Linked DNA regions of Homo sapiens: all the other regions are linked to region 1. The links are contacts of gene promoters, found by promoter capture Hi-C in blood cells and fetal thymus (Javierre and others, 2016). All regions are on one chromosome and are shown on one strand. The core of a region is centred on a gene start or on the middle of the fragment in contact, and the rest is flanking DNA. Distances in the headings are between cores, read along the strand shown.

The links. The method cuts DNA at HindIII sites, captures the fragments that hold promoters and counts their contacts. A CHiCAGO score of 5 or more calls a contact.
Region 2: a fragment that was not itself captured here is called in contact with the fragment with the promoter of PTGER4 in region 1 in 1 of 17 cell types (neutrophils); the score reaches 5.3 in neutrophils.
Region 3: a contact is called between a fragment that was not itself captured here and the fragment with the promoter of PTGER4 in region 1, in 1 of 17 cell types (neutrophils). The highest score is 5.3, in neutrophils.
Region 4: a fragment that was not itself captured here is called in contact with the fragment with the promoter of PTGER4 in region 1 in 2 of 17 cell types (neutrophils and total B cells); the score reaches 5.9 in neutrophils.
Region 5: a contact is called between a fragment that was not itself captured here and the fragment with the promoter of PTGER4 in region 1, in 2 of 17 cell types (naive B cells and total B cells). The highest score is 5.9, in naive B cells.
Region 6: a contact is called between a fragment that was not itself captured here and the fragment with the promoter of PTGER4 in region 1, in 3 of 17 cell types (naive B cells, neutrophils and total B cells). The highest score is 8.8, in naive B cells.
Region 7: a fragment that was not itself captured here is called in contact with the fragment with the promoter of PTGER4 in region 1 in 1 of 17 cell types (naive B cells); the score reaches 5.8 in naive B cells.

Annotation. Positions count from the first base shown.
Region 1 is chr5:40,678,108-40,681,973 of GRCh38, reverse strand. It overlaps PTGER4 (prostaglandin E receptor 4), which reads right to left and starts at 2,059. Exons shown (of 3, transcript NM_000958.3): 1 at 1,496-2,059; 2 at 114-1,023. The coding sequence starts at 980. RefSeq lists an enhancer at 514-1,041 and a silencer at 2,177-2,396. The HindIII fragment of the contact is 6,362 bases long and covers 1-3,866 here.
Region 2 is chr5:39,734,577-39,738,442 of GRCh38, reverse strand. No RefSeq gene overlaps it. Among named protein-coding and RNA genes, the nearest start is that of LINC02104, 220 kb to the right of the region's middle. The HindIII fragment of the contact is 3,223 bases long and covers 433-3,655 here.
Region 3 is chr5:39,752,204-39,756,069 of GRCh38, reverse strand. No RefSeq gene overlaps it. Among named protein-coding and RNA genes, the nearest start is that of LINC02104, 230 kb to the right of the region's middle. The HindIII fragment of the contact is 3,803 bases long and covers 1-3,722 here.
Region 4 is chr5:39,922,378-39,926,243 of GRCh38, reverse strand. No RefSeq gene overlaps it. Among named protein-coding and RNA genes, the nearest start is that of LINC00603, 130 kb to the left of the region's middle. The HindIII fragment of the contact is 1,749 bases long and covers 1,176-2,924 here.
Region 5 is chr5:39,981,445-39,985,310 of GRCh38, reverse strand. No RefSeq gene overlaps it. Among named protein-coding and RNA genes, the nearest start is that of LINC00603, 69 kb to the left of the region's middle. The HindIII fragment of the contact is 5,583 bases long and covers 1-3,866 here.
Region 6 is chr5:40,001,138-40,005,003 of GRCh38, reverse strand. No RefSeq gene overlaps it. Among named protein-coding and RNA genes, the nearest start is that of LINC00603, 49 kb to the left of the region's middle. The HindIII fragment of the contact is 9,445 bases long and covers 1-3,866 here.
Region 7 is chr5:40,053,752-40,057,617 of GRCh38, reverse strand. No RefSeq gene overlaps it. Among named protein-coding and RNA genes, the nearest start is that of LINC00603, 3.4 kb to the right of the region's middle. The HindIII fragment of the contact is 4,203 bases long and covers 1-3,866 here.

The DNA of each region.
Region 1 (3,866 bases), core at 810-3,309:
AAAGGCGACACGTTCACTGCCAAGGACTCAGAGGGAAAGCAGGGAGCGGGGAATGGACGCGGGAGGTGGATGCGAGAAAAAGGCCGAGTAGGGCCCCAGCCCCGGTCACTCACCACGAGCGGGATGGAGCAGATGAGCACCACCAGGGAGGTGGCAATGAGTAAGATGACCATCTGGATCTCGGCGCCCGCGATGCGGCGGAAGCTCCGGCGGCGCCGAAAGTCGCTGAGGCGCGGCAAGGCTGGGGAGGCAGCGGGGTGGCCCCGGGAGGCAACCGAGGCGGCCGCGGCCGCGTGGTGCTGCTCGGTGCCCAGCGAGGTGCGGCGCATGAACTGGCGGTGCATGCGGAGCAGCGCGCCGCACACAAGCACGTTGCAGAGGACGGTGGCGAGAATGAGGAAGGAGCTGAAGCCCGCGTACATGTAGGAGTAGGCGGCGTGCGCCGTCACGTTGGTGGTCCAGTCGATGAAGCACCAGGTGTCTGGGTACTGCAGCCGCGAGCTACCGAGACCCATGTTGGGCAGCGCGCAAAAGAGCACGTTGGACGCATAGACTGCAAAGAGCGTGAGGCCCGCCAATCGCTTGTCCACGTAGTGGCTGTAGAAATAGGCATGGTTGATGGCCAGGTAGCGCTCGACACTCATGGCGCAGATGATGCTGAGGCCGGACAGGCTGAAGAAGAGCAGAATGAAGGTGCTGTACTCGCACAGCGGCTGGCCCCCGGGCCATTGGCCCTTCATGTACGTGGCGATGGTCACCGGGCTCACCAACAAAGTGCCCAACAGGTCGGTGACAGCCAGCCCACATACCAGCGTGTAGAAGGTCGTCTCCTTCTGCTCCTTGCGCGACTTGCACAGCACCACGATGGCCACCAGGTTGCCCACCACCCCGAAGATGAACATCACCGCCGGGATGGTCACTGGGCTGTTCAGCCGGTCGGGGCTCAAGGAGGCGGACGAATTGACCCCGGGAGTGGACATGATAGTGGCTGGCGGTGCGCAGCCTTGGAGTGCAAGGCTGGGTCTGGGGATGGTAGAAGAGAGACAAAGCTGCCGTGAGCGGAAATTACCACTTGTAAGGTGTTAGACCCGCGCCCGAGAAACGATACACTGATAAGACAAGGGGAGCAACTCGATCCTACTTTCTGGATTGTAGCCACTTACCAACTGCGGCCACCAAAATCTCCAGGCTCGCGATACGTCCTGCCAACAGCACACTCTTGCTGACATTAATATTTATAAACTGATTTTCCCATTCCTCTTCCTCCCCACAATCCAACTCACTCCATTGCCAAGATGAATAAGACCCATCTCAAGGGAAAAGTAGCTCGCTAGTGCTATTCTCGATAGATTCTGAATCAATAAAATGCTCACTGAAAACAAGTTACAAAAGCAATTTGGAGAGCGCGCTCTTCCCTTCTTGGCTCTCTTCGGCGAGGGCCGCATCCCTGCGTTCTCTACCCGTTGACCCCAACGTCAGCCCAACGCCATCTCACCTGTAGCGGCAGCAGCGGTGGCAGCCTCACGAGCCCCCAGGGTCAGCCCTCAGATGTCCTGGACCCGCCTCCAACCTGCTTTCACCTTGTCCTGCTCAGTCTGGAAACTGCCAAATCTTCGGCTTCTCAAAGCCGGTCTCAGTGGCTGTCGATTTTTGGACACCGAGGTCAGAGTTGCCAGCTTTCAAAAACTTGGGAAACAAGAGGTGCAGCGGGATGGGTCAGTGAAGAATGGTGCTGGATTTCTTACTCGCTATTTTTTTTCCTTCAAAGACGAGTCCCAGCTTTGCAGTGCCCGCCGGTCTCGTCTGCGGGAGGACAGCGTTCAGGTGTGAGGCTGTGCGCGCAGGTGGCGCGGAGCCTTGGTCCCCAGCTCTGGCTGCCCTCCGCCCCAGCCACGGGCAGCACGGGCGGCTACTGGAGTTTGCGGCTGCCGCTGAGGCCGCTCCTGGCTACCTGGGGGCGGCTCGGGGTCCACTCTGCCAGAGGCTCTGGCCTGGGGCTGTTCATCTTCCTCTCGGGCTGCCGGGCTTGGAGCTCCGCTCTCGCCTTTCCACCCTCTGTACAAACTTTTCTCCTCCTCCAAGTTTCCCTGGCGGAGGCGGAGGCAAACCGCGCGCTGCCCGGGCGCCCATTGGCCGGATTGGAAGGGGGCGGAGCGCGTCCTCCCTGGGCGCCGCAGGGAAGACTGGCGGGGGGCGGTGTCTGGGCTGGGGCGGGGCTGGGCGCGCGGGGTGGGGCGGCTCCCGTGGTTTTCACGCCCTCGGAGGTGCGGAGTGGGAACTCGGAGGGGACCCTGGGAAGCCCCGGTGCTTTCCCCGGCGACCGCTTAGCCGCTCCTGAACTCGGCTTCCAGTGGGGCCACCACTGAAACCGGCGACCGTTTCCGCCTCGCTGCCTGCCGCTCGGAGTGTACTATTTCTTGAACCTCCTGTCCGCGGGCCGCAACATCTAGATCGTGGAAGAGAGGGCAGTTGTTTTAGGATTCTACCTAGGGTTGGCCGAGAAAGGAGAAGAAATACGGTGTCTGCGCTAGCGCGTGCGCCCCGGGGTTAGACTTGGGTGCGCCCAGCGGACGTGGTAGGTGGGTGGGTGGGTGGGTACCAGATTGGGCGGGGAAATAACGAAGAATCCATCCTCTCACCATAAAAGGAGTTGGAGTCAGTTGGCAGTGCCCAGACTGCGGGCTGCGCTTGGTCGGGCACCCCAGGCAAAAAAGAAAAAAAAAAAAGAGAAAGAAAGAGGAGGAGACAGTGATTGCAGCCTCTCCCGGCGCAGGTGGCAGAGCCTTGCGGCTTTGGAGAGAGGTGGAGCCTTGGTGAGGTTGGGAGGACTGCCTAACTGCGATCTTTTTCTCCATTCTTCCTCCTGGGAACTTCTCCGCCCTGAAAGGGTAGCGTGAGCTTCATGCCTTCGGCCGGCCGTGTTATACTCGTTAGACCCAATTCACCATGAATCCTTTGAAAGACTAGTGGAGAGTGAGAAGGGGGTTTCAAAGTCACTGGAGTAAAGGAATTCTCCAAGCACCACCTCATGATTAATTCTTGGAAAAGCCTGTTTGCGCGGCCCTTAGAATCATTTTGACTTCTTGTCTAATGGTGAAGTTTTTCTCTGTAATCCTTCTACTCTGTTTTCTAAAACCAGAACTAAAAACCTAAAAAATTGTAAAACTTCATGGTGTAATTAAAACCCCTTCACCATTTTTTTTAAGTAAGATTGTGTGGCCTTATTGCACAATTTAAATTCCTGGAAAAACCTCTTCCCATCTGCAGTGTACAAGCATTCTAACATATTATGTCTCCTCACAGGGTAAGTAAATAACTGGATTCTTTTATGTGATAAGCAGGTACCCATTTCTTAAATGTTATTTCGTGAACGAACAAACCTCCTAACTGGTTCTTCAGTTAGTCTCAGCAACACATGGGTAATAAGAGAAACTAAAAGGGCTTTCCGATTTCAAGTAATTACAGGTCATAAAATATCCAGAATCATATTTACTTGCAAAAGGCACTATATGGATATACTAATAAAGAATTATTCTGTTTATACTATTTACTTAATAATATGAGAAAGAAAAATACACATTTGTTAGCCAATATTAAGATTGATGGTGATTGGTCATTTTCTTAAAAATCTTCTTTTAATCAGTACTCTAATCACTTCTGTTGTCGATGCTTCCTTTGAACAGTAACCTCTAGGATTGTGTCAGCACAGAAAACAAATCAACATTAGAAAAAAGGAAACTGCACACTCTGCGCCATTCCTCACTAACCACATTGCTTTGCTATCACTCATGTCAGTTGCTTGTCAGTAAATATATGGAGGGGAGGTTGGGAAGTCCCTTATATTCACTTTCTGCTAATACAAATTT
Region 2 (3,866 bases), core at 795-3,294, 940 kb after region 1:
TAAAGAATAATTTTTAGAATGAAACAATATTTTGAATGGCACCGAGGCAAAAAATATCTAATAAGAATTTTAACTTTCAGTTACAAAATATTTATTAATCTATAATTGTGGCCTGAATACAATAATAACTCTATAATTATAATAGAATTAAGATAAACAAATAAGAATTAGTCACTACTACAAAAAGATGTACCTTAAGTAGAAAAATTGTCCCAGAAGGAATAAGAAAGATCTGAGATGCAAGAATAAATAAATTGTAAGCAGAGAAGCTTCTTAATACAGTGCGTAAGTAAATCCAAAGCAACTGTGTCTTCAAAATTAATACTATTACTGCTACTATTATTTATTATTATTGTCATTATTATTGTTAATTTGAGAGTTTTAGAAATGAGAGTTAAAACTTCTAGTGTCAGTACTAACATGTAACAAGCTTAGAAGTTACCACTCTTGTTCTTTCCACAAGAAAAATCAGAAGAAACTGAAAATGGTTGACTTTTCTTGAGCCCATCAGAGAACTGAGGTTGCAGGACAAACCAACATCCTAAAAACTAGAGAGGAGAATAGTCATAGCAGAGATCTGCTTACCTAGAGCAGAAGCTGCTGGAGTCTTAAGCTGCTAAGAACATTACATGGTAATTTTGGTGAATTGCTAGAAGCTGGCTGTGGACTAACCTTAGGGTATGAAATCACTAGGGCTGTAGTCTTCGTGGGTCTCCTACACTTTTCTCCAGATACCTCACCAGAATCTCAGAATAAAATTCCTAGAAAAATATTCTCTAGGCTGTGGCAACAAGAAAGGAAGAGTAATCATTGTGAAATTATGTCCAGAGCATTCTCCATAAAAGAGGTCGGTCTAAGGGAAAAGATTTGCCAGAGCTTTATCGTAGTTAAGGGAAGGTGTTTCTCCCATTCCGGCACCTCTAGATGTCCTTTCTCATCTAAGGGGAGAGAACATCTACATCACTGAAGAAATACCTGTGAAAGCCAAAGCCCATGACACAAATCCATAAAAATACTGAGATTTGATGATAGGATTATACAACACTCCCATTCACTGACCACCACACCAACCAGGCTCCAGTATAATAATAGTGGATTCCAGCTGGAAGAGCTGCAAGACACAAACTCTCTGCAAGGAGGAATACTTAGGGAAGATTAAAGTTCAAAAGAAAGACAAAACAAAGGCAACAGATGAATTTGAAGCCTCTGGCACTGACAGCTATAGTAAATATTAAATATACCCAAACTCTTAGCCCCATTAACAAAAACTCTCACACGAAAAGTCAGCAGTCCATATTACTCACACACATTCAGTTTTCAACAAAATCATGACGTGCCAAAAAAAGAAAGAAAAATCAGAGTTAGAGCAGATAAAACAAGCATCAAGACCATGCTAAGGTATGACATAGGTTTTAAAATTATCAGCAAATTTAAAATAACTAATTAATATGTTAAAGTCCCCAAAGAAAAAAAGTAGACAACATGCAAGAGCACATGGCTAATGTAAGCAGAAAGATAGAAACTGTAAGAAGAAATCAAAAAGACATAGAAATAAAAACAATATAATGGAAATGAAGAATGCCTCTGATGGGCTCATTAGGAGACTAGACATGACCAGGGAAGATCAGTGAGTTTGATGATACGTCAGTGGAAACATCCCAAACTGAAATGTAAAGAGGATTTTTTTTTCTGTTTTTTGTTATATTTGTATTTTTTAAATGGAATATCCTATTGCTGTGGATATATTTTTTTAAAGATACCCATGAGCTGGGCACGGTGGTCCCTGTCTACAGTCCCAGCTACTTGAGATGCTGAGGTGGGATGGTAAGATGCTAGTAGATTGAGGCCGCATTATTTATGATTGCACTCCAGCCTGGACAACATAGTGAGACCGCATCTTTAAAAAGTCTTTTAAATAAAATAAAATATAATATATAGAATGCATGTAATTGGAATATAAGAAAGAGAGAACGAAGCAGAAGTAATATTGTAATGAGATCCATAATCTGCTACATGAGATGTAGCAAATATAAATGCAAATATCCTCAATAAAAAAAAATTAGCAGATCAAATCCAACAAGGTATAAAAACAATTATGTGCCATAACCAAGTAAGAGTTATTCCAGGTATATAAGGGTGGTTTAACATTCAAAAATCAATGTAATTCATCACTTTGACAAGCCAAAGAAGAAAAATCATATGATCATATCAACTGGTGCAGGAAAAAGCATTTGACAAAATCCAACACCTATATATGATAAAACATTTCAGAAAACTGGGAGTAGAGGAGAAATTCCTCTGCTATAACTAACATCATACTAAGTAGTGGGAAATTGGACGTTGTCTGCCTAACATTGAAAACAAGACAGGGATATGCTATCTCACTACTCCTTAAAAAAAAAAAAAAAAAAAAAAAAAAAGGAGAAGGAGAGAGATGAGATCTCACTATATGACACGGGCAGCTCTTGAACTCCTGGCTGCAAGAAATCCATCTACCTCAGCCTCCTGTGTAGCTGGGACTACAGATACAAGCTACCTGGCTGTCTTACCACTCCTTTTAAACATTGTACTGAAAGTCCTGCCTAACACAATAAGACAATAAAAGGAAATACAATGTATACATATCGGAAAGGAAGAAACAAACCTGTCTTTTTTCACAAATAACATGATTGTTTATGTAGAAAGAATGTACAAAAAACTACTTGGAACTAGTTAACAAGTATAGTGAGGCCACAAGAAAAAAGGTTAATATACAAAAGTTATATTTGCTTTCCTATGCACTAGCAATGAACAAATGGAATTTAAAATTAGAAACATAATACCATTTACAATAGTGATCAAAAAATGAAATACTTTGTTACAAATCTAACAAGAAATGTACAAGACATATATGTGGAAATCTATAAAACTCGAATGAAAGAAATCAAAGATGTAAATAAATAGGGAGATAAACTCTATTCATGGTTGTATGTCAATATTGTTATGAGGTCAATTCTTCCCAACTTAATCTATAGATTCAATGAAATTTTCATTAAAATGTCCTCAAACTATTACATGGACATCTACAAATTGACTCTAAAGTTCATATGGAAGGTCAAAAGACCTAGAATAATCACAAGCACTGAAAAAGAACAAAATTGGAGGGCTCAAACTATCTGATTTCAAGATTTACTATAATAAAACTACAGGAATCGAGACAGCATGAAATTGGCGACAAAATAGACACATAGATCAATGGAACTGAAAGAGAGAGGCTAGAAATGCACCCACGCAGACATAGTTAACTGACCTCTGGCAAAGGAGGAAAGGCAACTTAGTAGAGAAAGGCTAGTCTTTTCCATAAATAATGATGAAAAAATTGGGAACCCGTATGCAAAAAAATGAAATAGACAAAGTCATTTCACATGTTACAAAAAATAACTCAACATAGATCATATACATAAATGTAAAATGCATCATTATAAAAATTCTGGAAGAAAACATCAGAGAAAATTTATGTGAACTTGGGTTTGATAATACATATTCTAATACCATTCTTCAGTACTAAAATCAGGGTTCCTGAAAAAAAAAAAAAAACTTTCATCAGTTGAACTTTATTAAAATTCAAAACTTGTGCTCTGCAAAAGAAACTATTAAGATAATCTAATGATAAGCTTCAGAGTGGAAAATAATCTCAAAACACATATCTAATAAAGGACTTGTATCCAAAATATTCAAAGAACTCCTAAAACTCGAAAATAAAAGAACAAATAGCCCAATTAGAAATTGGGCACAAGATCAATGTACCCTGTTCAAAATCAAAGGTTGTTGTCCACTGTATGTGACAATGTTTGGCAGCTGATGGTTATGTACTATAAGTACTTTTT
Region 3 (3,866 bases), core at 572-3,071, 930 kb after region 1:
TGACTCATGCTTGGGTCTTATCCCTGGATGCTTCTTATTTATAACCTGAACCAAATTCTCTAGTTATTTCTTTAAAATTAGTTTAAGAAAATAAAACACGTAAAGAAAAGTCTACTGTCTTCAGCTTTGATTGTTATTTTGAGCCCTATACCTTATTTCCCAGAAATATCTTCAGTAAAGCTGAAAATGCCATAAAATATATGACAGAAATGAAAGATACAGCTCCCTGAACTATCATGAGATAGCTTTATCATATTTAAAATTTATATAGTAAAATATTTCACATATATTACTTCATGTAAACCAAGTAATAGCCTTCTGTTTGTAAAACAAACATCTGCTGGAATAAGGACTAGCTCTAAGTCTATTCTTACAGTCATTCCACAACTACTGCCTCCTGCACCATGTTCTGACATCAGAAACTGCCTGACAAATGTATTTATTTACCTCTATTTATGAGTTTGAATTGCTCCACATTCTGAGATCAACTATGGTCCTAGGCAAAAGGCATGTAGGTACTTCTTGCAGAATCAGATATGTGGCTCAGTGTTGAGGTCACCCTGGCCATAGATGGGCTACTGATTATTGTATAGTCCCCTTGTTTACAGCCCCTGGTATCCAGATCCTTAGTTGGGCCACTTTCTACCATTCTGCTAATTCCATTGCCTATTTAATTTACCTTGCGGACTAAATCATCAATTCCATTTCTAGCCCTTGGCAAGAAGGCAACAATAACTTAAGGTTTATTTGAACCAATCTCCAAGGTCTCCATTGAATCAGTCTAACAGGCTCAGTGAAAAAGGAAGATTTGCCATGTTGATATGTTTCACATGGTGCTATCAAAAGATAAAAACTAAACGGTGCATGAACACATCTGGTAGTTAAACATTATGTTTCAGACATTGTGTGCCCTTAAGCACAAAGGCATTGGCCAGACCTGCGGAAATACGGAATGAGTGATTTAGCAAGGAATTGCCACTCTGTGCAGTATTCACTCATTAGCCAGCATGAACAACTACAGAGGATCGATGATCCAATTATCACTTCTCAGTATTCATATTATGCCACTTATCAGTAGCATTTGACACAACTGATCACCATCAGCTATCCCTGGATTATTGTAATAGTCTCCTAACTGGTGTCTCTATTGCAAGTACCATTAGTTTGTCAAATAAAATTGGATGATAATTGTACAGAATCTTGCAAAGAGCTAGAGAATGATGATTAGGAAGTGGGGCATAGAAAATGGGTAATGAAATTAACAGGATGGTAGAAAGAGACTCAAGTAAGGGTCTACATACCAGCGCTGGGAACACAGGGGCTATATAAAAATCGGTGCCCATCTGCAGCCAGAATGATCACAGACAATGAACCTAAGTATGTTCCACCTATCCATCATTCTAAATCTTCACACTTCGACCCATAAAAAGGTAATATATTTTAATCAAATTGTTTATACACACAGAGGTGCACAAAAACTATTTGTTGGGGACTGCACACACCTAATGGGTGTCCCTTACTGAAATCCTGCATCAGTACAATAAAGAAAGACACATTTTAATGACTTTTCTACATATAGTGGGCCTTTCAGCATTCTCTATACTGCTGGTACCTGGCCTAATGCCCGGATATCTTTCTCTCTCTCTCTCTCTCTCTCTCTCTCTCTCTCTCTCTCTCTCTCTCTCTCTCTCTCTATATATATATATATATATATATATATATATATATATATATATATATATATACTTTAAGTTCTGGGATACATGTGCAGAACATGCAGGTTTGTTATATAGGTATGCACATGCCATGGTGGTTTGCTGCACCCATCAACCCATCATCTATATTTGGTATGTCTCTTAATGCTATCCCTCCCCCAGCCCCCCACCGCATGACAGGCCCTGGTGTGTGATGTTCCTCTCCCTGTGTCTATGTGTTCTCATTCTTCAATTCCCACTTATGAGTGAGAACATGTGGTGTTTGGTTTTCTGTTCTTGTGTTAGTTTGCTGAGAATGATGGTTTCCAGCTTCATCCATGTCCCTGCAAAGGACATGAACTCATCCTTTTTCATGGCTGTGTAGTATTCCCTGGTGTATATGTGCCACATTTTCTTTATCCAATCCATCATTGATGGGCATTTGAGTTGCTTCCAAGTCTTTGCCATTGTGAATACTGCTGCAATAAATGAAAAAAAGCTCATCGTCACTGGTCATTAGAGAAATGCAAATCAAAACCACAATGAGATACCATCTCATGCCAGTTAAAATGTCATTTATCAAAAAGTCAGGAAACAACAGATGCTGGAGAGGATGTGGAGAAATAGGAATGCTTTTACACTGTTGGTGGGAGTGTAAATTAGTTCAACCATTGTGGAAGACAGGGTGGCGATTCCTCAAGGACCTAGAACCAGAAATACCATTTGACCCAGCAATCTCATTACTAGGTATATACACAAAGGATTATAAATCATTTTACTATAAAGACACATGCACACTTATGTTTAATGCCCAGATATCTCAAGTCCACTGTATTTGCTGCTCCTGAAAAGCTCTCCGACTAGGTATCTGGAGATGTCATTCCTCATCTTCTTCAGACTTTACTCAGATGTCACCTTCTCAGTGAAACCTTCCCTCGATCATCTTATTTAATAAAGCAACTATCTCCATTCTTTTTATGACCTCTCCTTACCTTTTATTTCTGCTTAGTCCTATCACCATTTTACATATTTACTTATTTATTGTCCTTGTTTCCCTGCCAATATATAAGCTCCACGAAGACACTTTTCTTCATTTACTGCTGTACCCAGTTAATTAATCAGATACTTGTTGAAGGAATGACAGGATATTTAACGCACGAATAATGAATCAATGATGGTTGGACTGAACTGCTTTGAAGTTTCCATTCAACTGTACAATCTTTTATAAATTTTCACTTATAAAATCCAAAGTATATATTGATTTCCTTCTAAAAAGGTCTTAAATTATAATCAAAAATAAAGTTAAAAATATTTAAGCAATATATATGGTATGTGATTTGCAGATCTTCCATTTTGTACAGTCATGAGTGTTCTATCTATGATCTTAAAACCTTGAAAAGAATCATTTGATTCTAAAATTGTTAGCCCATTGGTTTTTGTCTTATTTCATAATATCTAATGCATTTTCCTTCTGTTTCTGGGACTCATCTTAAATTAGCCGCTTGTTAAATCACATTGCCATGCTCTCCTTATAATTTTGCCATACTCAGGTTGATTTCAATTTCTTTTATTGTGGTCTAAAACTTCCTTGCCCTAACTCATATTTTATTATTGTCATCATATCTATGAAATTATCTTTCTATTGTGATAATCTTATAATAATGGTTAGTGATATTTTCTATGAAGGATATTTGAGGAAATAGTGCATTATGATGAAATGTATGTAAAAACTGGCAGATGTTTTCTCAATAAGGGAAAAGAAACCATCAAGAATCATTGTCTTTGAATCCTTTCTTTTTGCCTCAGAGCAAAAAACATGCATTTGCAGTTCTCGTGACATTAAAAAAGTACTTCAGAGTGTCAGTTTACATTATATATTTCAAGCACAAAATTTGGTCCACTTTTTCTCCCTTGGCATAGTTGAGGCTGGCATAAATCAACTTGAAGAAACACGCTCTGACTTTTCTAAAATTTGGGATTAATGTTGGCAACAAAATCTAATTTCAGACTGGTTTTTTAATTCAAGCTTGCACGGGGAAAAATAAAAACCCTTCAACTGAAAAGTGCATTGTATTTCACTGCCTTTCTAGGCATGTGATTTATTCATGCAGATGACTTTCTAATATTTCTAATTTCTACAGTCTGTAGAATCTGTAGAATTTGGACCCTAAG
Region 4 (3,866 bases), core at 801-3,300, 760 kb after region 1:
ATTGGTCCAGCATGAAGAGCACTGCTTTGCAAACTCTTAAGTAGGAGTAGAACCTTACAGCAATTCATAATATGTATCATTATTTTATTCATTTCATTTTCTCATAATACTGCAACAATACTTCAAAAGTGAAAAATCAGGCCAAACACCAGTGAATCTAATTGTAACGAACCTATAACTTTTATCTGCATTGGAATGTCTCAAGTGTTATATTACTTGACATTATCTATTTACATTCTTTTAGTAGTGAAATGCTCAGTTCATTTTGAAAATTAAATAAAAATGTAAATACAACACAAAATGTGGTTTTCCCAGGCAAGCAATATGCTATTTTACTGTTTGTCACATACTCACAGTAGAAATAAAACCATATGTATATATATATAATCATGAAGGTTCATGTTACTTGTTTTGACAGTGTTTAACAAAGTATTTGAGATTGTGATATTAGCACATGTTCTAATCAGTCAAATATTTATTCATGTCAGAAATAACAAAGACTCTGCATTCTAGACAATGGGTTATCCCATTATCTGGTATAACCACCCTTAAGATAAAGCAAACCTCTTTTGAGACAAATTAAGAAAATAAAGGATGTTTGAACAGACATGCTGCTTTAAGTAGGAGTTAGATGACTACCTAAATGCATATTATCTTTTTAATGAAAAGACAACTTTTGTAGGCTTCCTTAATTGTAAGTGAACAGAATTTCCTTCTTACTAATATTAGTTAAAAATAGTCCAGTGAGTTCCAGTGGCTTAAACAAACCAAATATTCCAAGCTATTTCAGTTACATCTGGTGGCAGAAGTAACAAGATTTCATCAGGCATTCTGTAAGAATGATTAGAGAGGAAAAAAACTAGTGTTTTGGGACGCATTCTGTGCATTGCGCACTATGTTATTTTTTATCTTCTTTAATTTACTTCTCAAGCAACCCTGAAAGATACAAATAACAGCAAATTAAAAGAGAGGTTAAGTAACTTGCCTTATCATTTTCTATTATGGGGATGAACACTCCTTGGGGCATGCAAAGAAGACAATGTCAATGGCAGCTCCTAGAATGATGCAATGTGGTGGCCCTGTATAAAGGTTAAACATAAATTAGTTTCTTCCTCAACTTTCCATGGCATCATTTTCCTTCCCAAACAAGCTTTGTACGATATTTCAAGAAAGCTTGTAGAGATTCATGAATTTTAAGCAAAACCAAAATCAGGAACTATATTTCAGTCTGCATATAACATTTCTTCAATGAGGAAAACAGTTGAAAACACTAAATGATGTTATGTGGACATAGCAGAAAGTCACTCTGAAGTTATCCAGTTTCCTAATTTTGGCAAACTGGATAACTTTTAACATTGTCCTTATCTAGAAAAATGATTATGACTTCTTTATTAAAGGTTGCAAGAGTAACCTTTAATATCAACCTCTGATTTTACAGTCCTGCATGGCCAAGAATTATAAACTTTTTAATTTTATTCAATATGGCTTTTATATATCTCATCATATTAGCCACTGATCTTACATTAATGTCAGAGAGGTGTTTAATACATGTCTGACACTGGAATTAAAAATGCTATTAATGTGAAGAAGAAAGGTTGTTTCTTCTTTTTAATCTCAGCTGGTCTTAAAGATTGTTCTTCAACTTTTATTTTACTCCCTTCACCCCTCTGGCCCTCTTCTTTCAAATTGGCAGCCCCTAAATGTATCTCTAACTCAGTTTTCTAGTGTCAAATTGTGAAGTTAATGTCAGTTGAGAAGATATATTTAAGAACTTCAAAGGACGCTCTTTGGAATTGTAAGAGTGGTATTTAATGAAAAGAAGAGATGGTCATTGTCACCTGCATGCAATATTTTATGTTTCATCTGCTTGTGATTGTTTCCCCACCACTCATATATATCAACATATACAAAATACACACACACACACACAGACACACACACACACCCCACATATGCTTTGATGTTTTACAACCGTCTGCACTTTATTAGCTAAACCGCCTTGGGAAAGTCAATTGCACTTGCAGAACTTAATCTTGCTCATTGAGCAACAGAAAAATAATGACACTACCTTTGTTATTAGATAATTATAAGAATTCAATGAGTTAAAATATGAAGACAGCTTAATATATAGTCAACAAAAATATTGTCTACACAAAATTTGTAAACTATTGTTTATAATCTACCAGTTGATTTGATCACATTTAACATTTTATTAAATATTACTGCTTATAATTATTTAAATTTCTAATTTGTATTGGTTTTATGTACTCCACTATATAATATGTGCCTTAGGGACACTGATTTCTAAGATAAATTCATAGATTGGCTTATAGATTAGTTCATTAGAATCACTAACATATTAAATTTTAGAACTAAGAAGAGGTTTTACTTATTATAGTACTAACACGTTGCTAATTATAAAATTGTTTAAGTGATTAAATACTTGGTCTGTGAAATAAAAATTTATGGTTAGTGGAAGAAGTGATTTGAACTAATTTATATTTTGATATTGGAGAGATGTAACTAGGGACACTTTGAAAGGCTAAGAGATTTTTACTTGCACTTGAATTTGAATTTCAATAGTATAGTTTCATAAAATCAAAATCTTCAGAATTTAGGGGTGAAAATTTGCCTGGTTTAGTAAACTTTAAGTAATGTAGGCCTACCTATTCCCTGAGACTCAACAATATTGAAATTAGGTCAATTAACTTGATTTTAAGTAATGTGGCAACATATAGAAATTGTTCAAACTTACGTAGACACCATCATTTACCTCAATCTTCAAACTTATTTGACCAATGATATAATCTTGAACTGAAAAGAAAACTCTGTTTAAATATGCAAGATATGCAAGTGTACTTCGTTTTATTGTGCTTTACTTTATTGTGCTTCACAGAGATTGTGTTTTTTTACAAATTAAAGCTTTGTGGCAACCCTGTATTAAGCAAGTCTATCAGTGCCATTATTGCAAAAACATGTGCTTAGTTTGTGTCTCTGTGTCGCATTTTGGTAATTCGGCTATATTTCAGACACTTCATTATTATTATAACTCTGATGGTGATCTGTAATCAGTGATCTCTGATGTTAGTACCATATTGTATTTGTTCTGGGGTGCTACAAACCACACTCAATACCACAAATAAATGTGTATGTTCCAAACTGCTCCATCGACCAACCAGCCATTACCCCATCTGTCTCCCTCTCCTTGGGCCTCCCTATTTCCTGAGACACAACAATATAGAAGTTAGGTCAATTAACAACCCTACAATGACCTCTAAGTATTCGAGTGAAAGAAAGAGTAACATGTCTCTCACTTTGAATCAAAAGCTGGAGGTGATTAAGCTTAATGAGGAAGGCACGTCAAAAGCTGAGATAGGCTGAAAGCTAGGCCTTTTGCAACAGACAGTTAGCCAAGTTGCGAATACAAATAAAAAGTTCTTGAAGGGAATTAAAAGTGTTACTCCAGTAAATACAAATGATAAGAAAGCAAAACAGGCTTATTGTTTACATGGAGAAAGTTTGAGTGGTCTGTATACATCAAATAAGGCACAACATTTCATTAAGCAAAAGCCTCATTCAGAGGAAGACTCTAACTCTTCAATTCTATGAAGGCTGAGAAAGGTGAGGAAGCTGCAGAAGAAGGATTTGAAGCTAGCAGAGGTTGGTTTGTGAGGTTTAAGGACATAAGCCATCTCTGTAACACACAAGTGCAAGATGAAGCAGCAAGTGCTGATGAAAAATCTGCAGTAAGTGATCCAGAAGATCTAGCTGGGATCTTTGATGAAGTTGGCTACAACTCAACAACAGATTTTCCACGTAGGCAAAATAGCCTTCTATTGAAAGAGGATGCCATCGAGGACTTTCCT
Region 5 (3,866 bases), core at 821-3,320, 700 kb after region 1:
CAATGGTGTAATTCTTCCAGACTTTCATGATGTTCTATTAGGATTCTCTGCCACAGCCTTGACACCTCTTTCCATAGAATACTGTGTGTAATGAGCCTTAATGATCCTTCTGACTCCTTATTTAGAGGTTGAATTAGAAATGGTGTGTTTGGGGGCAAGTAGACCACTTTAACACCTTTGGTGTTAAACTCATAGAGTTTTTGGTAGCTGGGGGCATTGTCCAGTAAAAAGCAGTTCCTTACAGGCAAGGTAGTTCCTGACTTCAGGGACAAAGCATTGATGGAACCAATCCAGAAAAGGATTCTTATTTTCCAGGCTTTTTTTTTTTTTTTTTTTTGAAAACTAAAAGACTGGATGTTGGTGTTTATCTTTTCCTTTTGAAGCTCAGGGTTTGGCAGCATTATAGATAAGGGCAGTCCTGGTCATAAACACAACTGCATTTGCACAAGACAGTATAGTTAGCCTATCCCTTTCTGCCTTAAATCCTGTTGTTCAATTCTTATCTTAATAAATGTCCTTTGTGGAAGTTTGTTGTGTTTTTTTTTTTTTTTCCCAGAATAGGGTACTTTTGTGTGTAATAAAAACCTGTTGAGGCAGATAATCTTTCTCCTCAATTATTTTCCTAATGGCATCTGAGAACTCATCTGCTGTCTCTTGGTTAGCAGAAGGTGCTTCTCCTCCTATGTTGACATTTTAAAACCACATCTCTTTCTAAAATTATCAGACCATCCTTTGCTAGTATTAAATTCTCCAGCTTTAGATCCTTCACATTGTTTTTGCCTTGAGTTGTTATATAATGACTTCACTTTTTCTTAAATTGTATTAGAGTCTGTGGGTATGCTTTTCCTACAGCAATTCTGCACCCACATAAAAGCTGTGTTTTCAATATGAAATTAAAGGAAACTGTATTTTACAAAAACTGCAAGGTTTCATGCCTGCTGGTGTAGCTGCAGTGAAAGTTTCACAAATGTTCTTTTCTTTTTAAATAATGGTTCTTATGCTGGATTTATTTATCTTGAAATGGTGGGCATCCACTGCTACAGATGTCAATCTATGGTACACATCAAACAGTTAAACTGTTTTTTATGTCACTACTTTGCTTCTTGGGAGCATTTTCAGCATCACTAGTGGCACTTCATATGGGTACCATAATGTTACTCAAGGTTTAAGGGTGTTATACTAAACACAATAAAAATATACAAGAACTGAGAGAGATCACTTTTGCTGCAATATGCAATTTACTGGAGAGACAAACTGCTCGCAAGGAGATGACTGGTGCCACACAGTGTTTTAAGCAAATACTTGCAACTCTTGAGATCACTGCAATAGCAACAAGAGGTGAATAAAAAATTATTACAGTAGTACAGTATATACTATAGTTAATTTTAGGCAGTTATGATTTAATACTGCATCTTTGCATTTGTTTAAATTTCTCTAGAGTGCAATGGTACCATATGTGGCCTGTAAGTGTTTATGTGTGTTTTGGTAAGTTTTAAGTTTTTATAAAAGATTTGTGTATATTTTATGGTAGTAAATAATAAAATAGACTAGTATCTACATATATTTTATGCATTCATGACACACCTAACTTTTTCTTATTTTTTCCAGTATTTCTAGGCTACATGGTTCATCTGCAAATTTCTGTAAATTGTCACAAATCTTCAGAAAACTTTTCAATATATTTACCAAAAAATGTACCTATAATTGGACTAGTGAAGTTCAAATCCATGTTTCTCAGGGGTCAACTGTATAATATAACAGAATGAGAATGAAAAGTGTGAAGGCCCAGAAAATTGAAGTGGCATTTGACATCAAGTAACCTGCATATCTACTTTACTTGGAGATTCTGAATTTTCTATCAAAAGACAGAAGAAATGATTTTGAAAATGAACGTGCAAGACCATCAGAATATTTAGGTCTAATCATTAATAGTCAGACTAAAGAAATGGTCTCTCAAATCAGGCCTCTCTTTTCTTTATGCTTACAATACCTAAATGCGTGTCCTGCTACATAAGTTTTCCTGAAGAATAGTTACAGTCATTTTACTTTCTAAGTCAGCAGTGGTTTTTCTGAGTGGAAATGCAATTGACCTTTTTTGCCCAATGATCTTCAAGGAATCTGAAACGTGACTGAGACTCACTCTTCTAAATTATTAACTAGAGCACAAAAACGGAGAGATCTCCATAGATAAACTTTTGTACCATGTAATCTGAATGTCCCTGCATTTTTAACATCCTGGCATGGCCCCAAAACACTCCTCCATTACCCTTTTCTTGTTCAGTTTTTCATTGGGTTTTATCCAAGTTCAGAATAATTTTATCTTGGCAATTTAAAACACTTGCACTTCCTCTCCCCTTGGATCTAAATGAACACAAATCATTTCTTTTCCATGGAAAGAACCAAGATAGTATGTTTCCCCTCTCATCAGTGAATCAAAAGAACTCTATTTAGCTGTTTGGCCTTTGTTCTCCTAAATCAAACATGCTGTTTATCACTAAAATTAACCATTACTTATAGGCTCATTGACTAAACCAATAAACCAGCAGAAATCTAAATAGGCTAAGAGCAAATCGAGTAAAACCTAATACAATCATGGTTTGTTTTTGAAGAAAATAAAAAACAAGCTATGAAAAGTCACTTGCAACATAACTTACTTATTCTATCGAAAAACATAGTTTTGTTTTTAGCCTGAACCCTCTTTTTTTTCTAGCCTATTCTCTCTACAGCAGATTTCCTTATTCCATTCAACACACACATGCCTAGTCCAATCTACCTTATATTTTCTTTTTAATGCTATATCTAGATAGCATTGAATTCCATTGATTTTTCTCCACTATATTTTCCATACATATTTTGTATCAGGCTGTTTTTCGCATTACTGTAAAGAAATACCTGAAATTGGGTAATTCATAAATAAAATAATTTTTCTTTTGCCTCATGGCTCTGCAGGCTCTACATGAAGCATAGTGCTGGTATCTGCTTCCAGTGAGGGTCTCAGGAAGATTATAATTGTGGCAGAAGGTGAAGGGGGAGCCAGCACATGATATGGCAAGAGAGAGAGCAAGAATGGGGGGTAGGTTTCATGCTGTTTCAAACAACTTGATCTCATGTGAACTACCAGAGCGAGAAGTCACTTATCGCCAAGGGGATGATGCTAGGCCATTCATGAGGAATCCACATCCATGATCCAAACGCCCCCCAATCAGGCCCCACTTCCAACACTGGGGATCACATTTCAACATGAGATTTGAAGAAGGAAAACATGCAAACTATATCATTTCAACCCTGGCCCGTTAAACCTCATGTCCTTCTCACACTACAAAATACAATCATCCCTTCCCAATAGTCCCCCAAAGTCTTAATTCATTCCAGCATCAAATCAATCAAAAGTCCAAAGCCTAAAATATCATCTGAGACTCATCTCCTTCTGCCTATGAGCCTATAAAATCAACAATGAGTTATTTACTTCCAAGATACAATGGTGGTATAGGAACTGGGTAAAAATTCCTATTCCAAAAGGGAGAAATCAGCCAAAATGAAGGGGTTACAGGCCCTTTGCAAGTCTGAAAACCAGCAGGGCAGCGATTAAATCTTAAAGCTACAAAATAATATTTTAAAACTTCATGTCTAGCATCCAGGGCACACTAGTGCCAGGGACGGGCTCCCAAAGCATTGGGCAGCTCTGCCTCTGTGACTTTGTAAGGTCACCATGGCTGCTTTCACAGGTTGGAATTGAGTGCCTATGGCTTTTTCAGGCTCAGGATGCAAGCTGCTGGTGGCTCTAATATTCTAGTGTCTGGAGGGTGGCAGTCCTATTCCCACAGCTCAAGTAGGTAGTGCTCTAGCAGGGATTCTTTGTGTAGGCT
Region 6 (3,866 bases), core at 555-3,054, 680 kb after region 1:
GTACTCCAGCCTGGGTGACAGAGCCAGACTCCAACTCAAAAAAAAAAAAAAAAAAATTAATATCAATCCTTCTTAAATTCACAAAAATTAAAGAGGAGGTAACACTTCCGAACTCATTTTATAAGGCCAGCACTATGCTGATACAAAAGCCAGACAAAAATACTATAAGAAAAAAAAAATTACAGCTGTTATTCATATAGGTGCAAAAATCCTCAACCGAATACTAACAAGCCATATTTAACAGCACATTAAAAAAGATCATTCTCCACCATCCAGTGAGATTTATTCCTGGGTTATAAGGGTGGTTCAACATACATAAATTAATAAAGATGATACATTGCATAAACAGAATGAAGGACTAAAATCATATGATCATGTCAATAGATACAGAAAAGGCATTTGGTAAAATTTACCATCCTTTAATGATAAAAATTCATTTTCAACAAATTAAGTATACAGGGAACATACCTCATTATAATAAAGGCTATATATGGGAAGCCTATAGCTAACATCATACTCAAATGAAAGCAAAGGTTTTCCTCTGATATCAGAAACTAGACAAGGATGCCCACTTTAGCAACTTCTATTCAACATGGTACTAGAAACCTTAGATAGAGCAATTAGTCAAAAATAAAAGCATCCATATAAGAAAAGAAGTAAAATTATCTGTTTGCAGATGACATAATCTTGTCTATAGAAAACCCTAAAGACTCCCTCTCCCCTGTCCTGAAAAACCTGGTAGAACTAATAAGTAAATTCAGTAAAGTTTCAGGATGCTAAATCAACATACAAAAACCAATTGTATTTATCTACACAAATAACAAAACATCCAGAAAAGAAATTAAGAAAACCAGCTTGTTTACAATAGCATCAATGTGAATAAAACACACAGGATTTCATTTAACCAAGGAGGTAAAAGATGTCTACCCTTGAAACTATAATACGTTGGTGACTGAAATTAAAAACAATGCAAATAAGTGAAAAGATATCTCATGTTCATGGTTTGGAAAAATTAATATTTTCAAAATGTCTACACAAATGGCATTTCTTATAGAAATAGAAAAAACTTCTGAAATTCATATGGACCCACAAAGAACCCAAATAGCTAAAGCAATCTTGAGCAAGAAGAACAAAACTGAAGGTATCAAACTTTCTGATTTAAAATTATATTACAAAGCTACAATAATCAAAACATGTGATACTGAGATAAAAGCAAACAGAAAGACAAATGGAACAAAATCAAATGTCCAGAAATAAATTCATATATATATATATGAGTTTTATATATATATATATATATATATATATTTGAGTTTTTATATATAGTCCGTGAATCTTCAACAAGGTGCCAAGAATGCACAAACAGAAAATGATAGTGTTTTGAACACTATCATTGAACAAATGATGATGTTGGCAAAATTGGATATTCACATGCAAAAAAAAATCATGAAATTGGATGCAAGTCTTACATGACATGCAAAAATCAACTCATTGTGAATCAAAGATTAAAACATTATATCTGACTCTATAAAACTCCTAGAAGAAAATATGTGGGAAAAGTCCATGATATTGAACTTGGCAATGATTTTTTAGATACGGCACTAAAAGCACAGGCAACAAAATAAAAAATAAACACGGGAAACTTCATCAAAAGTAAAAAGTTTCTGCACAGGAAAGGAAACAATCAACAAAATAAGAAGGGAACCTATGGAATGTGAGAAAATATTTGCAAACCTATAAAGATTTAATATATCCTATACCTGGTTAATATCCAAAATATAGAAGGAGCTCATGTAACTCAACAGCAGAAGGCAAATCATCTGATTAAAAGTGAGCAAAGGACCTAAATAAAAATTTTATGAAGAAGAGATATAAATGGCCAGCAGGTATATAAAAAGGTGCTCAACATCACTAATATGAGAAATGCATATGAAAGCCACAATGAGATATTATGTTACACTTGTTAGAATGGCTATTTTCAAAAAGTAATGAGGTAAGAATTTTTGGTGAGAATGTGGAGAAAAGAGAACCATTATACCTTTTGATAGGAATATTTCCAGATATTACAGAAAGCAGTAGGAACATTCTTCAAAAAATTAAAAAAGAACTACCATATGATCCAGGAACCCCACTTCTGGGTATTAATGCAAAGGAACCATTAGTGGGAATGTAAACTAGTACAACCACTATGGAAAACTGTGGAGATTCCTTAAAGAACTAAAAGTAGATCTACCTTTTGATCCAGCAATCCCACTCCTGGCTATCTACCCAGAGGAAAAGAAATCATTATACGAAAAAGATACTTGCACATGCATGTTTATAGCAGCACAATTTGTAATTGCAAAAATATGGAACCAAATGACCATTCATCAATGAGTGGATGAAGAAAATGCAGTGTGTATATACCATGAAATACTGCTCAGACATAAAAATGAATGAAAGAATGGCATTTGCAGCAACTTGGATGGAATTTGGAGACCATTAGTCTAAGAGAAGTAACTCAGGAATGGAAAACCAGACATTGTACGTTTTCATTCATTAGGTTGGAGCTAAGCTATGAGGATGTGAAGGCATAAAAATGATACAGTGAACTTTGGGGACTCAAGGATAAGAGAATATACATTGGGTACAGTGTATGCTGCTTGGGTGATGGATGCAGCAAAATCTTGAAAATCACCACTAAAGAACTTATTCATGTGACCAAATGCCACCTGTTCCCACCCAAACCAACTCTTGGAAATGGAAAATTTTAGAATAATATTTCGTAAGTCTTTTGAATGTTCTTTACCCTATATTTTTCTTGCCCCTACCTCAATCTCCACTGTTTATGTATAAAGTAAGTTTAAAATCTATCATTTTTCAGTGATTAAATATGTCTTTCATACCATAATTACTGCCAGTTGTCCACTTGTGGCTACTAGAGGAATGAATTTTAAGGAACATGGGCAATTTTTAGCTGCAGGCATAAACATACTAATTCCCTAGACTCCCTGAATATAGCGAAGTGATGTCAGGTCTGGATAAAATATGGCAAATGCCTTTGCTATGATTTTGTGCAATCTTCAAAAGGTTTTCTTTTTGTTTATTTTGTTTAACCAGAAAACAGTCTCTCTCAACTTTCTTTGCTGTGAATTCTACAGAACTTAGACCATTATGTAACAGGTAATGAGATTCAATGGATATTTGTTAAATAAATAAAGTCTGGTTTTTATTATGTTAATTGAAACAAGTTATTATTACTAAAAGTCTCCTCTGTATACTAAAGAAAAAATGTAGTAGATAAACTCAAATATGTTGTGAATCAACAATTTCATAAATGATATTGGTGGATGCATAGAAAAACAATTCTTTCATGAGATTTTCTTTGTTAATGTCTAGGGAAATGGAAGATGGAGTGGGAAGAGGCAAGTGAGCAAGAAATATGAAAATTCAAATTTTATAATGAAAAAGAGCAAAAATTTACTCTATAGGCCACAGAGAGCAAAGGATTTCTGAAAGAGATAGAACATACGGGGACAGGAAATACTAATGTTAGCAACAGAAGAATTATAGGAGATTTCTGAAACAAGGTATTTGTAAATAAACAATGAAAAGTACTGAAAATTGAAGATCTAGAAAGAAATACATTTAGAGTTCTAAAAAGAAGAATTTCTCAAAGTTTTTTTTTCTTTTAATATACCAAAGTTGTTCTGTTTGCTACATGAACTTGTCATCCATATAAAATGCAAAGCAGTATTAAGTTACTTTCTTGGTTTTATGCCTTTCAATAAAAGCCGAGGCCTCACTGGATAAAGAGTATGGCATTTGAAATCAAATTCTGGCCTGGTTGGTTACTTAACTTCTTGGAAACTCAGTTGCCTCCTCTT
Region 7 (3,866 bases), core at 635-3,134, 620 kb after region 1:
TGAATGTGTTTTACAGCACCTTCTTTCAACCACAACTGAATATATCCTTCACTTCTTAGAATGGTACAAACACTTCTTAGTTTGAATCTTTTTGGATCCAAAGCTGCTTGATTTGAATGTAGTAAACCTTTTATTTGTGATTCTAGATTCCCAGGGGAAGATGGTGGGTCTATGCAATTTTACCTACAGAATGCCTACAAGGCCTTTGTAAAATTAGGTCTCAGTAACATTTTAATAACAACAATTTCTATTTTTCAGTCTCATTACTACTTTCGAATTATAAGATGTCTATACTACACTCTAAAGAATCTCACAAGTAGGTTAGAAATGTGAAAAACTGAACTCTCTTCTTAATGGCCATCTTAGAAACCACAGATAATTTAAATTTAACTAGGTCTAATCCAACCAGTTTTCTTTAATCAAGACCATGTGTAAACTAAATTTTATTAATTTAAATATTTTTCCTTTTACTTTGCCTTGTTAAAAAGACTTAAGGCAGGTAGCAAGATGCACACCAATAACATAAAAAAGGGGTATTAGTTCATTTAATGTTGCTACAAATGAATTCCTGTGGCTCACTAATTTATAAAGAAAAAAAGTTATTTGGCTCATAATTCCCATGATTGGAAAGTTCAAGTTTGGGGTACTGCATATGGTGAGGGCCTCAGGCTCCTTCTACTTCTGGCAGAAAGCAAAGGGGAACTGGTTTGCATAAAGACCACATGGCAAGAGAGGAAGAAAGAGAGAGAGGGAGGCACCAGGTTTGTTCAAACAACCAGCTCCTTTGGGAACCAATAGAGCAAGAACTCTCTCACCGCTAAGGGAGGATATTAATTTATTCATAAGGAAACTGCCTCTGTGACCCAAACACCTCTCATTAAGCCCCATCTCCAACACTGGGGATATATTTTAACATGAGATTTGGAAACATGCAAACCATAACAGAGGAATGGGGGAATGAAGGTGAGAAAAATAAGATAAAACCACTAGCGTGATTAGCACACCACTATGCTGCTCTTTTCTAGTGATAGGAAACAGAGATACATCATTAAGGTTTCTGGCAGACCACAAAAATACAGAATTATGGTTGATTAACCATCTCAAAGGGTCTAAACAATAAAACAAAAGCAATTGCTTAGAAGAGTAAAACATTCCTCAATGTTGATTCTGGAGAACCATTTTTGTTTTTTGTCCTCAGAGAGAAAATATGGTGCCATGTGTTAAACCATGTTTTCCACAACATTATTTTGGTAAATACAGAAGTGTGCTCTACGAAGCTATTTCTTACAATGTTCCTCAAAGTGTATTAGAGACACCAAGTTGTATAATAATTTAGAAAAAAAAAAGAAAAAGTAAAAAAAAAAAAGTACAGGATTGTAAAACATGATTCAGGTATGCAGTTTTTTTCTAGTAGTTTGGCTTGATTCACAGACAGAATAGTGTAATTAGAAAAAAAATGTATCTTTGTAGTCACCACCTGACCTCAAAAAACACATAGCAAAAATCTGATATCAAGGTAAGGAAGTAGTGAGAAAAAAATTTAATTATCTGTTTATTGTAAAGTATATACATTTTGAAAAAATTGAAAACAATAAGGCCTATGTAACTTAATGTCCTCTTATATAGCATAATGTCCTTGAGGTTCATCTATATTGTCACATATGGCAGAATATTCTTTTTTTCTTTCAAGCTAAATAGTATTTAGCTTGGGCACTAAAATAGTGTAGCCTGGAGTTTTGAACTGAAATATCCAGTAATGAGATTTTAAAGTTTGAAGAAGTAGTGGCTGATTTGAAATAATTGAGGAACAACTGGAAATTGGCTTGGGAAAGATAATGGCAGCAAGTCCAAGAGGAGAAACAGAAGATCCTTGCTAGAGGGATTCTCTAGATTCTTCCAGTTCAGTTTCCTGTTTCCCAGCATAATCACAATTAACTCTTGGGAAAACAGGTGTAATTTTTCTTTCCTTACAAAGCCCTATATCTAAGAAATACTACAATTTTCACTTTAGCACCAAGATAAAATTTATATAAACAGTAGAGAAGTAGCAGCCATGGACTCCACAAAGACTGAACAGAGAAAAGTATGCAATTAAAACAAACAAAAAGCTCACAACTTAATTTGAAGCAGTTAGGGATCCTCCCTTTACTAGTGAACAATGAGGCAATCTATTTTTAGCACGCAGTGAAGTTTGGCTCAAAATTTAATTCAAGGCATTAGAGGGCTCTGTTAATTCCCTGCTTATATTTCAGGAGTACTAACGTGGCTTACAAGAAACCAGAGCAAACTGATTGATTTCAGGTTTAAATTTACTTGCCTTGGGCACTGAACTTAAATTGTCTGGGGTTAGGAGAAAAACAGTGAGAAAGATATACTGACATGGTTGTAAATTGCTCTGACCTTCACTACACACTCAGCACTCTAGCATTACTCAGTGCAGAGTAGCCAATTTAGTAAGCCACAGGTACCAATAATTACTAGTTATTAAAGCCTAATTGTGTGCCAGACATTTTGCTAGGTGCTTTATATTCCTTCTCACTAATATTCATATGCTGGGTTGAATACTGTGTCTCCCGAATGATGTCTACCTGGAACTTCACCCTGTGACCTTATTTGAAAATGGGATCTTTGCAGATGTAATTAGGTTAAGATGAGGATATATTGGATTAAGGTGGGTCCTAATACAATAACTGGTGTCCTTATATGAAGAGCAAACAAAGATACAGAGACATGCCTAGGATGAATGCCACATGATGACGGAGGTAGACAGTATAGTGGTGACCTGTGAGCCAAGGGTTGCCAACCGCCACCAGAAGCCAGGAGAGAGGCATGGGATGATTTCTCTCCCAGAACCTCCAGAAGGCACCAACTCTGCTGACACCTTGATTTCAGGCTCTGGCCTCTAGAACTATGTGAGAATAAATTTTTATTTCTGTAAACAACCCAGTTTGCATTAGTTTGTTACCTCTGCCGTAAGAAACTAATACAATTCACGTTAACCCTCAAGGTAGGTGTCAGTTTCTTTTAAAAAAAAAATTTTTACAACATAACCCGACTAAAACTTGTGCTCACTCCACTGTCTTTTAATCAAGCTCACTAAACAGTAGAGTATAGCAATTAGGTGATCTGGTGAAAAAAATTATCCCAAAATTTATGCTAATTGACCACATATGCTTTTTCATTTCAATTCCAAGAGCAATTCTTTCCATCGGGAGGTTGACTGCTCCTTCAAGATGGTCATTGCTACTTTGTCAAAGCCTGTAACCTGGGAGATAGCCAAATAGGATGGCTTTGGTGATTTCTCACCACAACAGGGCTCCTGTGCTTGCAGGAAAGGAGATAATAGATTTTGGAAGACCAGGCAATGCAAGGAATGAGTCTGCACATTCTGGGTCAGATGCCTGGAATAATGTGTTACAGGCTTCTAGGGAATGAGGGGGAATCCACAGCATTGATGGCTCCTTTGTTGATGCTGAAGAATCTGAGGATTACAATGAACAGGTTTGGGAAGAAAGTCAGGAATTTTAAGTGGCACAAAAAAGTCTGGTTATAAAAATGGGCACTGATTAGGTCACGGGCAGGGCAGAATAGAAGAAACCAGGAATGGAAACTGGACTTAGCGAAAAGTACAAAATCAGCTATGAGGCACTCAGACAGGAACTCACAGACAGAAGCTGGCCTGGAAAGAAGTAGTGTATAAACAGTAGACACTCTGAAGAATCTAGATTCTTTCCAACCCGGAGGATGAAGACAGCAAGTAGGTTGGGCAGATCAGTGTCAAGAGATTCAGGACAGATGGACAGATCTAAATGGAAACAGATTGAATCTATGGCAGGGGTCAAATATCAGAAACTCAAGCTAAATTC